Regions from separate parts of the Homo sapiens genome. Here region 2 is linked to region 1. Evidence: promoter capture Hi-C in human tissues and cell types (Jung and others, 2019). All regions are on one chromosome and are shown on one strand. The core of a region is centred on a gene start or on the middle of the fragment in contact, and the rest is flanking DNA. Distances in the headings are between cores, read along the strand shown. Region 1 holds the start of BRINP1 (BMP/retinoic acid inducible neural specific 1). Region 2 overlaps LOC101928849 (a long non-coding RNA gene).

Region 1 (6,646 bases), core at 259-2,758:
TTTAGGGAGAGACTCTCTGGGGGCTTCCCCGCCTGAAATGGGGAAAGAAAGACGAATCTGTCTTAGGAAAGTGCCCCATCCATCTCCTTCCATATCATCCACAGCCGCCCCAGATGAAATTTCCTCTGAGACCCTTTGCAACTGTGATGGATGAGCAAGTCCCCGAGGACGCTTTCTCCTTTCCCCTGAGGGGGATCCATGCAAACTTGCCAGATCCTCCCCAAAACCAACAGAAGCCGGAGGGGCTCTGTTGATTGCAAACGGGGATGCAGGGTAAATCCCTATCCCAGACTTTCCAAGCCCCAGATAAGGAGCCCACCGCTGACTTCCCCCTTTCTCTGTCACCCACTATCCAGTGTCTCCAAATTCCCATCAGAATCTTGGAGTCTGCCCAGTGTAGAATTTAAAGTGACAGCGTCTCATTTGCCTCGGGGGTTGGCCATGTCTCTTTCATATTAAGCTGTGGGTCCCAGTGTAGCAGGATTCCACCGTTTGGAGGAATTTTCCTTCAAGCGTACCAACATTGGGCTAAATAAGGTGCCATCTACAGCCCCATAATCCTCCCCAAACCCCAAGCCCAGAGCCCCAAGAGGAAGTCCACAGCGGGTTTCCCGGTGACTACGTGATCCTATAGTAAGGGTCCCATTCCGTGTAAGCTGGAGAGACCTAATTAAAAAGACACACGAGGGCACACATACAAACACATACGTACAAACATGCACACACACATCGCGCCGTAAGTAGGTTATAGGACCTCTCTCTCTTCACCCCTCCCTTACACACACGGACACACACACACACCACGAACACACGCATCAAACGCAAACGACGCCGCACACGCAAACACACTAGCACCACATCAAGTTCCCACCATGGTGCACACGTCGGGAGCGCGCGGGGACACACACGCCACTCACTCAAACCCGCAATTAGCCCTTTGAGCCCCAGGCACAGGAACCCCCTCCCTAGAACTGGAGAAGACTTGGAGGCGGCGGGGCGGCCAGGTGAAGAGCGGACAAGGGTGCCGGTAGGGGGAGGGGCAGAGGAGCGCGGGGACGCCCCGAATGCGGCCCGGGGCCGGGTCCAAGGGCAGCGGGGCTGCGGGGCGCTGCACCCGGCGCCGCCTTACCTGGAGTCAATGTCCGTCTTTGGCGGAGAGCTGCGGGAGGACGCTTTTTATTCGGCTCGGTGGGAACTTGGGAGAGCCCTGCGTGCAGCTCGCATTCCGGGCACGGCGCGGGGACTGCAGGCGTGGGGGTACCTGGCTCCTAGCAGCCTGGCTCATACTCAGCCGTAAAGTCCCCTTCGCTGGTCCCGAGGACAGGCATGAATCCCGGCTCCGGAAGGCGGTCACTACTCCCTCTGCCTCCCGGCTCTCTCGCTCTCGCTCTCGCTGTTGCTCGCTCGCTCTCTCCCTCTCTCGCGGGTTCGCTCGCCTGCGCTCTCCTCCTCCCCGCGCGCCAGATCAGTTTGCAGCCGTGGGGTCCGGGAGCGAGGCGGCTGGCGAATGGAGAGGGAAGTCCAAGTGCGCCGCGGTCTCCGGGCGGGGAGCGGCGGAGGCCGGGCTACGCCGGGGGAGGGACTTAGCCGGCGACGGCCGAAAATGAATGGGGGAGCGGCGGCCGGGGGGCGGGGAGGGAGGAGCTGAACGCCGGGGTTGCTTCCGAGGAGTGTTTTGTACATCTTTAGGCGGAGGAGGAGGAGAAGCGAGAGGAGGAGAGACGGGAGGCCGCCTCGAGGGAAGGGCGGCCCGGGTGGGCTGGGGCTGAGCCGTAGGGAGTTTCGTGGGTCTGGGGCGTGTAGGGTGTTGTGTCTATGCGCACGAGCATCCAAAGGGACCGCGCATACGCGCAAACCCGGAATCCTGGTGCCCTTAAGCGTGACTGTACTGTGTGTGTCGCGAGTACCTGAGTGTTTCTGGGGCGGCAGGTGTTTCCACGGCCGCGTGGATCCATCGAGTGTGGGTTTTGTCTCGGGAGTTGCCCGTGTGGGTCCGTTTGTGTCTGCGCGTCTCTCTGTGAGTGTTTGACACTGTTTGTTTCTCTCGGTGTGTAGGCGAGAGCCCACGTAACCTCCCAGAATGAAGCAAGAGCTTCTCTACGTAGGCAGGATGTAGGAGGGAGAAGCTGAGGGGACACGAAGTTCTCTGGAGACCACCAGAGGCGGGGAAGGGGCGAGGGTACAGGGACTAAGACATGAAAATAAAAAGCAAAATACTCTGCAATCAGCCTGAATGCAGGCTGGGGCTGCTAACATAGGGCCTCTTCCTGAAGCAGAAAATAAAGCCCTCGTATGATAATTCCCACACAGCGCACATTTGGTATGTTTGTTTACTTTGCTTCCCTTCTGATTTAAACCAAATCAGCAATGCAGATCCCTAGTCCCCTGAAGATTAGGCAAGAATAGAAAGCATTAAGGCTACCAGATGGAGGGGCAGGAAGTCATAGGAAAAGGTGTTGGAATATGTAAAAGAGCCAGATTCAGTAGAAGTGCAGGCTCCAGAGAGGTTGGAGTCCTGTAGCTGTCTGGTCTTGGTGAAATCACTTACCCCTTAAGCCTCAATTCCTTGTCTGTTTAATAGAATAATAATATATCTACCCATCTAATAGGGTTGATGTGGAATTGTAATGAGTTAATATATGCAAAGGCACTTAGACTGCTCATGAGTTAATGTATGCAAAGGCACTTAGACTGCTCCCTGACACCTAGTGAGTGCTCAGTGCATGTTGTCTGCTTTTATGATTGCCATTGTATGTTTTTTGTTTGTTTTTTAATTCAAAGGATGATAAGAGAGAGATGTGACCACCAGGGAGGCCTAGAACAATCTAGGAGCCAGTGAACTAATTGGAGGAAGAGGAGTCTTGAAACAAAATGGAAGAGAAATGTTTGAGTGATGAACTGGGAACTCGGGAAAAATTATTTAATCGACAAAGAGAAAGGGAGAAAGAGAGGAGAAGACATCGAGCTAGCCAGAATGATCCTGGGTCTCAGAAGGTCAGGACTGAGGGGAGAGGAAAGGGAGAGGAGGAGCAGCCAGTGCAGAGCTTCTCAGCCTTCACTGGAATCCCAATGAGGAGGAGTCAGCACCACGGACAGCTCTCCAGCCACAAACCCAGTCAGCGATTTCTATTTTCGCCTGGTGGAAATTTCTCCCTTTTTTCTTGGGCAACTTTCTCTTTCCCTTGGCTTCTGGTCCAGGTTCAGGTCTTGAACACAGGTTCCCCAGGTCAGTTCTGACTTTGATTCTGACCACGAAGAAATACGCCCACCACACACACTCCTTCTCCCACCCACCGCGGTATGAAACCCCAGGTCACTATCTCTTGCCTCTCCTCCTTTCTTTCTTTTCTCTCTCTCTCTTTCTGTCTGTGCCCCATTCCTTCCTTTATTCGTCCCTATCTTTCTCTTTGTTTCCCCATCATCCCCCAGCTGAGATCTACTTCCATGACTGTTAGTAGGCAACAGCTGCCCTGCTGATAATGCAGTTCTGAAATCAATCTGAGACAACGTAGTCAGGCAACTTCAGGTGAAGACCAAAGTTCTGACTGATTCTTCTTAACCCTTTCCTTGTAATCAATCTCCCAAGATGGGTTGTGGTCTACATACCTTAGAAAGTGGGGACTTAATGCTTTGGAATACTGTCCAGTCTTTCTCTTCCTCACCCCACCCAGTCAATATTTCCCTAAAGAAAAAAAGAGCTCTTCTAGTTCCAACCAATACTACACAGAGAGAAAGAGGAGAGAGAATTTTGAACTTTTACCGTGCACCAAGCATTTTATTTGCAATGTTCTGAATATTATTGCTTACAGTTCTGAAAATACTTTGCAGTATGAATAGATAATACTATCCCATCTTTATGGCATAGGAAATTGAGTCTTGAAAAACTTGAGTATATGCCAAACTAGCTATATGCCAAAATATAGCTAGTAGGTGATGGAGTCAGGAATTCAACACCCAAGTCCAAGTCCAAAATCTTTATCCTCTGGGAATAATGGGGAAGCCCTGGGGTGATTGGAAGTTCTTGGAATTTTATGGGGTCACTGCACCCAACCCTAAATATCAACTTAGATGTCTGGATCCATTGCATTATCTGTGTCCCATCCCAATGGATGATTTAGTGTATCTTGTCCCTGGAGAAGGAGGTGAAGACTTTGCATGGACAGATTTAAGGCTCACTCGAGCCTTATGGTTTCTGAGTTTTGAATAAAATGCCAACCTTTCCAGGTCTTAGTTCATTTGCATTTGGCTCAGTTTAGCTTTCCTGTTTCTATGAAGAAAGGCTAAGAGGGCCATTTTAAAATGTCTCCGAAGACACCTTGGTCATCAGAAAAGTTCTCAGTGCAAAGCATTTCTAATGACTTATGGAGAATGCAATCAAAACCATATGGATAACATTTTTGCAGAAATACACACGGGTGGGAAAAGGTTTAGAGGCCAAAAATATATTTCTTTTTTTCTTCTTTGCCAAAGAAAGAACATTTAAGGCAGCTTGAGATATGTGAGAAATGTCTTGTTCTTTCTTTGGGGTGGGTGTTGGTGAGCAGCTGTTTGCTATTTCCACCGAATTTACTAAGGGCTTCCATGGGGAGGAGCTGCCAACAGATTAGGATAGACTTAAGAAAGAACTTCCTGTCTGTAGATTTTGGGGTGACACTAAAATAGGACCTTTTGTACAATGGCATTTAATAAGAAAATGGAATGTTTCACAGCATTTCATTCATAGTATGATAGATTTGAAAATCAATGGATAATATTTTTAATATCACAGACTGTTTTAAGAACCTCACTATTGCTATAGACCCTCTCTGTTGTGGAAAATGTACTATAAAAAATCTCACACAATTTTACATGGAGTTTCACTAAATTTGTCTTTGCCAATCTCATTTGTGAATATCTATCCCTGGACCCCAGCTTTAGGACTCTAGAATAGGTGGCTTTTCTGGCCTGTAATCTGACCTTAGATTTTATAGGTTGCTTTACTTAGACTTAAGCTTAAGAAATTGCAAAGGGAAATCCAGTGAATAAATTAATAAACAGGTAAGCATCATTTTTTTCTAGAAATAGACAAGAAATATAGATAAATGTTCAGTGATGAAATGGAGGTTTCACTTACCCCTCCTTAAATAAAGATAAGATTTTGTCCTGTTTGTGCAGGACTCTCAGCCACCTGCCACTGTCTCAAAAGCTTAAGTTCACTACTCCTGTCAAATCTCAAAGGAGTTAAAATCCCTTAATCTGGGGTGCTTTGGGTTCAGAATAGGCTGAACAACTGCTGAAAGAAGCCTGTATTTCTTAAGCGCCTACTGACTGTGAGGTAGTATGAAAGATTCCGAGATAAATATCTTGCCTGGTCTCTGTCTTCTAGGAGTCTGAAATCCATTGCAGAGCCATACTCATGCCTAAATAATCAGAATACACCATAGAATGTAGCAGGCATGCTCAGGGTCTATAGGAAATATTGAAAAGCTAAAAGGAGGAAAATTTTGCCTCAATGTTAGGTATAACATTTTACACCTATAAACAGCTATTTTTCTTTAGTTTTAAAAACAGTTGAATTCATAATAACTGATATTTATTGAGTGATTAATATGTGTGAGCAACATTTAAGCCTTCCATGTCTCTCAACTAGGCTATTATGAGCCTCTTTTCATTGAATAAAAAACGCTGGCCTAGCGCAGTGGCTTATGCCTGTAATCCCAGCACTTTGGGAGGACAAAGCAGGTGGATCACGTGAGCTCAGGAATTCGAGACCAGCCTGTGCACCATGAAGAAACACTTTCTACAACAACAACGACCAAAAAAAAAAAAAAAAAAAAAAAAAAAAAAAAAAAAAAAAACTACAAAAATTAGCCAGGCATGGTGGTATGCCCTTGGGAGTCTGAGCTGGGAAGATGGCTTGAGCTTGGGAGACAGAGGTTGCAGTGAGCCGAGATCACACCACTGCACTCCAGGCTGGGCTACAGAGCCAGATCATGTTCCAAAATAAAAACTTCTATGCCTCTTAGTCTCTCTCTCTCTCTCTCAATGTCTCTCTCTCTCCTTTTCTCACTCTGTCTCTCCCTCTCCCTATCTCTCTCCCCGCTTTCCTCCCTCCCTCTCTTTCTTTTCTCCTTCCCAGCCCATACCAACTCTGTTTGGGCAATGTGCTTAGAACACAACTCTCATCCATCATTCTACTTATCTAAAACCTGGTAGACTTTTAACTGTATACCAAAGTCAGAACCATTTTACTCAGAATTTAATGCCCTCCATCATTTGGTCCTGGTGTTTTTGTGGGTTTTTTTGTTTTTTTTGTTTTTTTGTTTTACAAATTTATTTATACCTAGTTATCACCCTGTACCTTCTATGCTAGCAAAAATGAACCGCTCACTGCTTCTTCATTCCCAGCTTCCTTTTCTCTGTGCATGCTGGTCCCTTTATTCCCAGGTCTTTTTCTCCCTAGCAGCCCATCATTTCTGCATGACCAAATCTTACCCTTCCTTAAACATTTAGTTCATGTGCTTTATCCGTGACCACTTCAGTTAGGATAAAGCACATTTTTACATGAAGTGTACAAAGCTGTGCATGATCTGGCCTTAACCTTCCCTCTAATATCATGTCCCCTCTCTCTACTCCAGTCACACTGGCTGTCTTCCAATCACTAGAG
Region 2 (6,200 bases), core at 3,304-5,803, 390 kb before region 1:
AGTCTCTATTGAAACTATTCCACTCTGCTGTTGCAGTGTGTAAGCAGCCATAGACAATATATTAATTAATGAGCATGGCTATATTACAATAAAACCTAATTCATGACAAGATAAAGAGGGCCAAATTTAGCCCTACAGTCATACTTTATCAATCCCTGCTCTAGAGCATACATTTACATATTACCTGCTATAGCAAAGGCTACATTTAAAGCTTCTGATCCAGTGGCTTGGATGTGCTGCTAGGAAAATGGTTTAATGTGGATAAAAAGAGTGAGCAGTAAACTATGACTCAATCTAACAGTTAACTATTTCTCTCTCTGCACCCTCTCTGTACTCCTGTTCCTCTGTATGATGTGCTTCACACTCTTAATTTCACAGCAAAACGTGTTTTTTTTTTTTTTTTTTTTTCATAAATAGCACCAAGGAAGACCTCCACCCAATTCAGTCTGAACTATTCTGAATAAATAAAATACATATGGATTTATAAACTTTAACTTCATAATTCTAACAAGCATGAAAATATATTCCTTTTATTATTTTTATTGAAAGTAAATGAAGGTTGGGCTATACATCCTCAAATTCCTTCCCATATCATCTTTGACACAAATGTCTTTTGTACTGATTGCAAGTAAAACATTTCCATTTTATCATACTAATTATCTCATTATGCTTTTTTTCCTCTTTGAGTCTTCTGAATCTAATTGGAAACCATCTTGGAACACACATGTTGTATAAAATGAGATACCACTATCTGCATCTTGTGCCTTTTGTAACAATATAATAAAATTGTCATATATTGATTGCCGGAATCAATACCAGGACATTTACATACATTTTCTGATTTAACTTTTGTAATATGGGCAGTCATTTTGATTCTATCGGTCAGGAAGTGGTGACTCAAGAAAGGAAGTAATTTGCCTAAAATTACAGGACTGGACCCAGACTTTCAGATCCCAACATCTTTATACTTAAAAAAAAATTCATCTATACTCTGTGTGTTCTATTTTAGTATATGTTATTAGAAAATAACAGTAATTCTCTCTCTCTCTCTCTCTGCCTCTGTGTGTGTGTGTGACACAGAGGAACTAAATAGAATGATAGGAATGCAGCATCTGGCCACATCTCAGGGATGTTAAATGAGAATCTACATTTTAACAAAATGTCTAGTTAATCCCTATTTATATTAAAATGAGAAACACTGAGTTAGATAAGATTACCCTTATGTTACAGATCAAAATCCTCAGAAACAAAAAGTTTTCCAGCTCAGATTGTGAAGATCTTCTCAAGTTTTGTCAAGCAATTGGGACAGTAAGTATAGCAAAGGTAGAGGCGGGTATTAATGATTACTAACTGTCTGCTTCATTGAGCTCATTGCAACAGTAGATGGAGAATACTGGAGAAGAGAATATAATCAGCCCCCCATACCCATGGGTTCCACATTCGTGGATTCAATCAACTTTGGATCAAAAATTTAAAAAAAAACATGACAATAAAAAACAACACAAATCTTAAAAACAATAAAGCTTAACAATTATTTACATAGCATTTATATTAGGTATTGTAAGTAATCTGGATATAATTTAAATGTACAAGATGATGTGCATGGGTCATATGCAAATACTATGTCATTTTATATAAGGGACCTGAGCATCCCCAGATTTTGGTATCCTGGAGTGGGTCTTAGAACTTATCCCCTGTAGCTACCAAGGGACAACTGTATCTGATAAGGCTTTCTTATCAGAAGCCTAACCTAGAACAATGGGAAAACTAAGAACTGGAGTCTACATTTTTTTTTCTCCCTAGAGAAAATCAATTAGTTCCTTCCAGAGAGGGTCTCTGATACCAGGAAAGTGCTGTTACATGTGGATGCAGGCATTCTGTTTTTCAAGATAACCGTTATTTGATATACCAGATGTTAGTCTGGCTAAAAATAGTAAAAACAGAAAGAACCTCTTCACCTGAGAAACGTTCTTACACATTCTCAAAGAATCCTCCTTTGAAGAATATTTTTCTACCACATGATAATAATATAGGTGGAATAAATCGTCTAAAGGAGCAAATCCATTTCCAAAATCTCCTCCCTTTCATTTGACTTTGATATTCCATTGATTCTTTTTTAAATCCTTTCTTGTCTTCTTCTTTTCCATCCTTCCCTACTCTCACTGCTTCTGGCTCTACAGGAAATATTACACAATCCCTACTTTGCCTGTGCTACCCACCCAAACAACAATGTCATTTCCTTATAATAATACTACTTGAAAGTTTAAAAGGTGAAATAGTAAAAGACTTATGAGCAGTTAAAAATTGGTACCTAGTATCTGTGCAGTAATGTTCATGTATATTCTTTAGAAAATATCCTCAGACCCTATTTATTTTCACTTTACTTTTAAGTAAATGGAACATATCTGTGTTACTTGTTTTTTATCGTTATAGAAGACAGGCAGAATCAGCACTATTTAAGATAAGTTTTAGGCAAATACACAATGAAAACAATAAGAGGGACTGCTCCAGGTATGCAACTAATGGGTGAAAGTAAGAATGATACAAAACAAATACAAAACAAATAGAACTAAGGAATAATAGTAGAAGTTACAGCATTCTGAGCCTTCTAGAAAGAGGTTGAAATGATTCAGCATGCACATGAATGTTTGTAATGATGATTCCATTTCATAAAATAATACTTCAATTACATGTAACATGATGCAATTACTAAAAAATAGAAAATTAGTAAAGTAACTCACAGAAGCTTCTATCTAAAATTGTTAAATTAAAATTTAAAAACCATTTTTGGTCTGTAGGGAGTTATATTTGAGTTATCTGGAGAAAAATGAACTTATGAAGGATAGCATCTTCTTGTCCTCAGACATGTTGAATAAAACAAAGATTATCATCTCTTTTCTTGAGTATTCTAAAATATTCAAAGTCTTTCTAAAACATGTGTCTTAATTGATCTCCCGAGAAACTATTTGTGATTGATGGAGAAGGTAGCAGAATATCAATTTTATAAATGAAGAAATTGAGGATAAGAAGGTAAATTGATCAATGCAAAAGCACTAAACATAGGAGCTATTATTACATAATATTTTGCTCCAACTATTACCATATCAACAATATACTTTCACTTTTTCTTTTTGTTTTTTTCCAATAAATCTCTCAAAAATAAGTAAACTTCTGAAAATGAGGCTGGATGACAGTAATTTAATGATTATTATAATGCTATATGCAGACATCAATTGTAATGAAGTAATTTTTTAATTCATTGTCAGTGTTTCTGTAGTTAGCAAAGATTTAGGGAAAAATAACTGTTCATTAAATATTTATATATAACCAACCGTGCATATAAGGTGTAAAGATACATGAACGAGGAAGATAAAACTTCTGGCCTCTAGGAGCTCACAACTGACACCAGTGGTTCTCAACAAGGGGTTATTTTGCTCCCCCCAACCTCCACCAGAGGACATTTGTCAATATCTGGAGATATTTGTTATTGTCATACTGGGATGGTGAGCTGGTGTTGGAGTTATTGGCATCTAGAAAGTACAGACCAGGGATGTTGTTAAACATTATAGAATGCAAAGAATAGCTCCCTTCAATAAAAAATGTTCAGGTCCAAAATGTCAACAGTACCAAAATTGTAAAATCTTGGCTTACTTCAAGAGGGCAAATAATTACAAAACAAGTGCATGGATCAAGACAAATCCCTATTAGAACCCAAAGGAGCAACAAACTCTGGCTGGGCAGGAAAGAAGAAGTTTCATGGGGACAGTGTCCATGGGCTGTGTCTGAAAGAACAGATTCAAATAAAGTCATCAAAGAAAAATGTACATTAAAAAGCTGGGATCTAAAATAGGGACAGCATTTCTTGAAAGTTCTTTCCAGGGAATACCAAGGTATATAGGGGCATAGGATTATAAAGGTATTAAACACACATGCGCGCGCGCGCGCACACACACACACACACACACACACACACTGTTAACCCGTTTTACATTGTTATAGAAGAACACCTGAGGCTGGATAATTTATAAATAAAAGAGGTTTATTTGGCTCACAATTATGCCGTCTGTACAAGAAGCACAGCACCAGCATCTGCTTCTGGTGAGGCCCTCAGGAAGCTTTTGCTCATGGCAGAAGATGAAGGGGGAGCAGGCGTGTCACGCTGGCAAGAGAGAGAGCAAGAGAGATGCCAGATTTCTTTAAACCACCAGCTCTCATGTGAACTAATAAAGAACTCACTCTTTACCTTGGGGATGGCACCAAGCCATTCATAAGGAATCTGCCTCCATGACCCAAACACCTTCCACCAGACCCTACCTCCAACAATGGGAATCAGATTTCAACATTAGATTTAGAGGAGACACATATACAAACTGTCTCTCACAGACACACACACATGTGTGCAGTTATGCATACACACAGATTCCTGAGGTCAGACTTTGAGCAAAGCAAACTTACCAAAATTAAACAAGATTCTTCACTACATGACTTATTATAACTTTAAGATGTAATTTTCCAAGAGGAGAATATAGTATTCAGCGTTTTAAAAATATATTTAACCAGATATATATTGTTTTAGAAATGCATCTCTTGTGATTAGTGTTACATGGATCACAGCTTTGAAAAATGACATTTTAGACAGTAGGAGATCATTTAAGGACGTTAAACAGAGGAAGTGGTCTGAGCATATGTCCGATTTTAGAGGGTAAGTAGTAACTGTGCAGAAATGGACTGGGGACACACCTGCAGTGGGAAAGACAAATGAGTCATGAGGGACCGGTTAGAAGGTTATCACAATAGTTAATGTTAAAATTAATGGAGTCACGTATTAGGGCTATGGTTAGAAGACGGTTGTGAACTAGACGTGAGGGCTGTCATGTTTAGATGAGAGTAACACCCTTTATGCCTCATCGCTTGCCCTTATTTTCTCCTTTAATTTATTTTGTCCATGGAAGAATGTCCATCCATTAGCAGAATCACAGCATAAAAGGCATACTGTATACGTATGCACTAGGCTTGGGATTTCAACCTACTATAGACCTGCAACTAAGACTCTCTCAGGCACAATTCTCATTCACTAAGTACTGGAGTGAAGCCATTATCCCTAAGTAAGGCAGGCTGTCTTTATAAACTGCAGCCTTGCATGTTTGCACAACACACAATCTTCAGCTTCTGAGGCCCTCTGAATGGTGGAAAGTTGGGCAGCTCATGCATCACTGAGCTCCTTGCTATATGAAGAGCTCCAAAGTTACTGAATAGTCCACACTGCACCATAAATTACAGGGTAGTTATTTCTTAGTTATTTAGCAGTTACAGTGCAATTAGTTCCACTTAATGTCAACTTTTGCCAATACATCTTCCATTAGCCTGAAAATTATAGCTTGGTTCTATAACAGCCGTAATATGCAAGCGGTTTCCAGACTCCAGCTTGCATCTGGGAGGGGAAGGCAGAGAGAAAATTGCTTCGAAAAGCAAGTTGATTTGAATGTGCATGTCTGATCCTCATCCCAATTCAGAAGCCATCCACTGACAACCTGGCAGCCCGCTTCTGTATCAGTGACTGAAGGAGAAGTTTGGAGGAATACAATGCCCACAGCTGGAGAGTATGGTATAGCTGATGAAAGATAGGAATAAACTTGTCAGTGCTGAAATCCTGAGGTCTGACAAGGTTAACTCCAAGCTGTGAGTATATAGAAGACTTGGATTAGTTCAGCTTTGGTACTTAGTTCAGAGTTTACCAACATACCGTTTCATTTTTTAGCTCACTTTCCCACTGAATGTACAAAGGGATTACACAAACCAGACTTACTTTGCTTTTATCCAAAATTTACATAGCCCATGTATCTTATACTTTGCAGAGTAAGATTTTAAAGAAACATGGCTTAGCACCTCTCTCTCTCTCTCTCTACACACACACATACACACACACACACACACACACACACAAAATGGAGTAAGGTTTTATATAACAGGCTTTTTTTTTAACCTCTACTGGCTTAATCCTTCAAAAGGTGCTTGGGTCATTTATTAAGGACTCAAACATAGCATATATTTACTGGGCACTTGCTATGTGCCAGCCATGATGCTAATAATGTTGTTTGAGTTATCTTATTTCATAAGGTTGGTATCACACTGTAATTTCCCTTTTTAATAAACAAGGACTCTTAAGTACTGAAGAAGTTAAATAACTTCCTCATGCAGTA

The links. Contacts are between HindIII fragments. The study calls those that stand out against the background at their distance.
Region 2: a contact is called between a fragment that was not itself captured here and the fragment with the promoter of BRINP1 in region 1, in 1 of the 25 tissues and cell types used here (H1 embryonic stem cells).

What each region holds. Positions count from the first base shown.
Region 1 is chr9:119,367,927-119,374,572 of GRCh38, forward strand. BRINP1 (BMP/retinoic acid inducible neural specific 1) reads right to left here and starts at 1,509. Exons shown (of 8, transcript NM_014618.3): 1 at 1,130-1,509. RefSeq lists enhancers at 908-1,429, 1,430-1,952, 1,953-2,473. The HindIII fragment of the contact is 11,628 bases long and covers 1-6,646 here.
Region 2 is chr9:118,979,617-118,985,816 of GRCh38, forward strand. LOC101928849 (a long non-coding RNA gene) reads left to right here. Exons shown (of 8, transcript XR_001746918.2): 8 at 688-813. Among named protein-coding and RNA genes, the nearest start is that of LINC02578, 300 kb to the left of the region's middle. The HindIII fragment of the contact is 7,372 bases long and covers 868-6,200 here.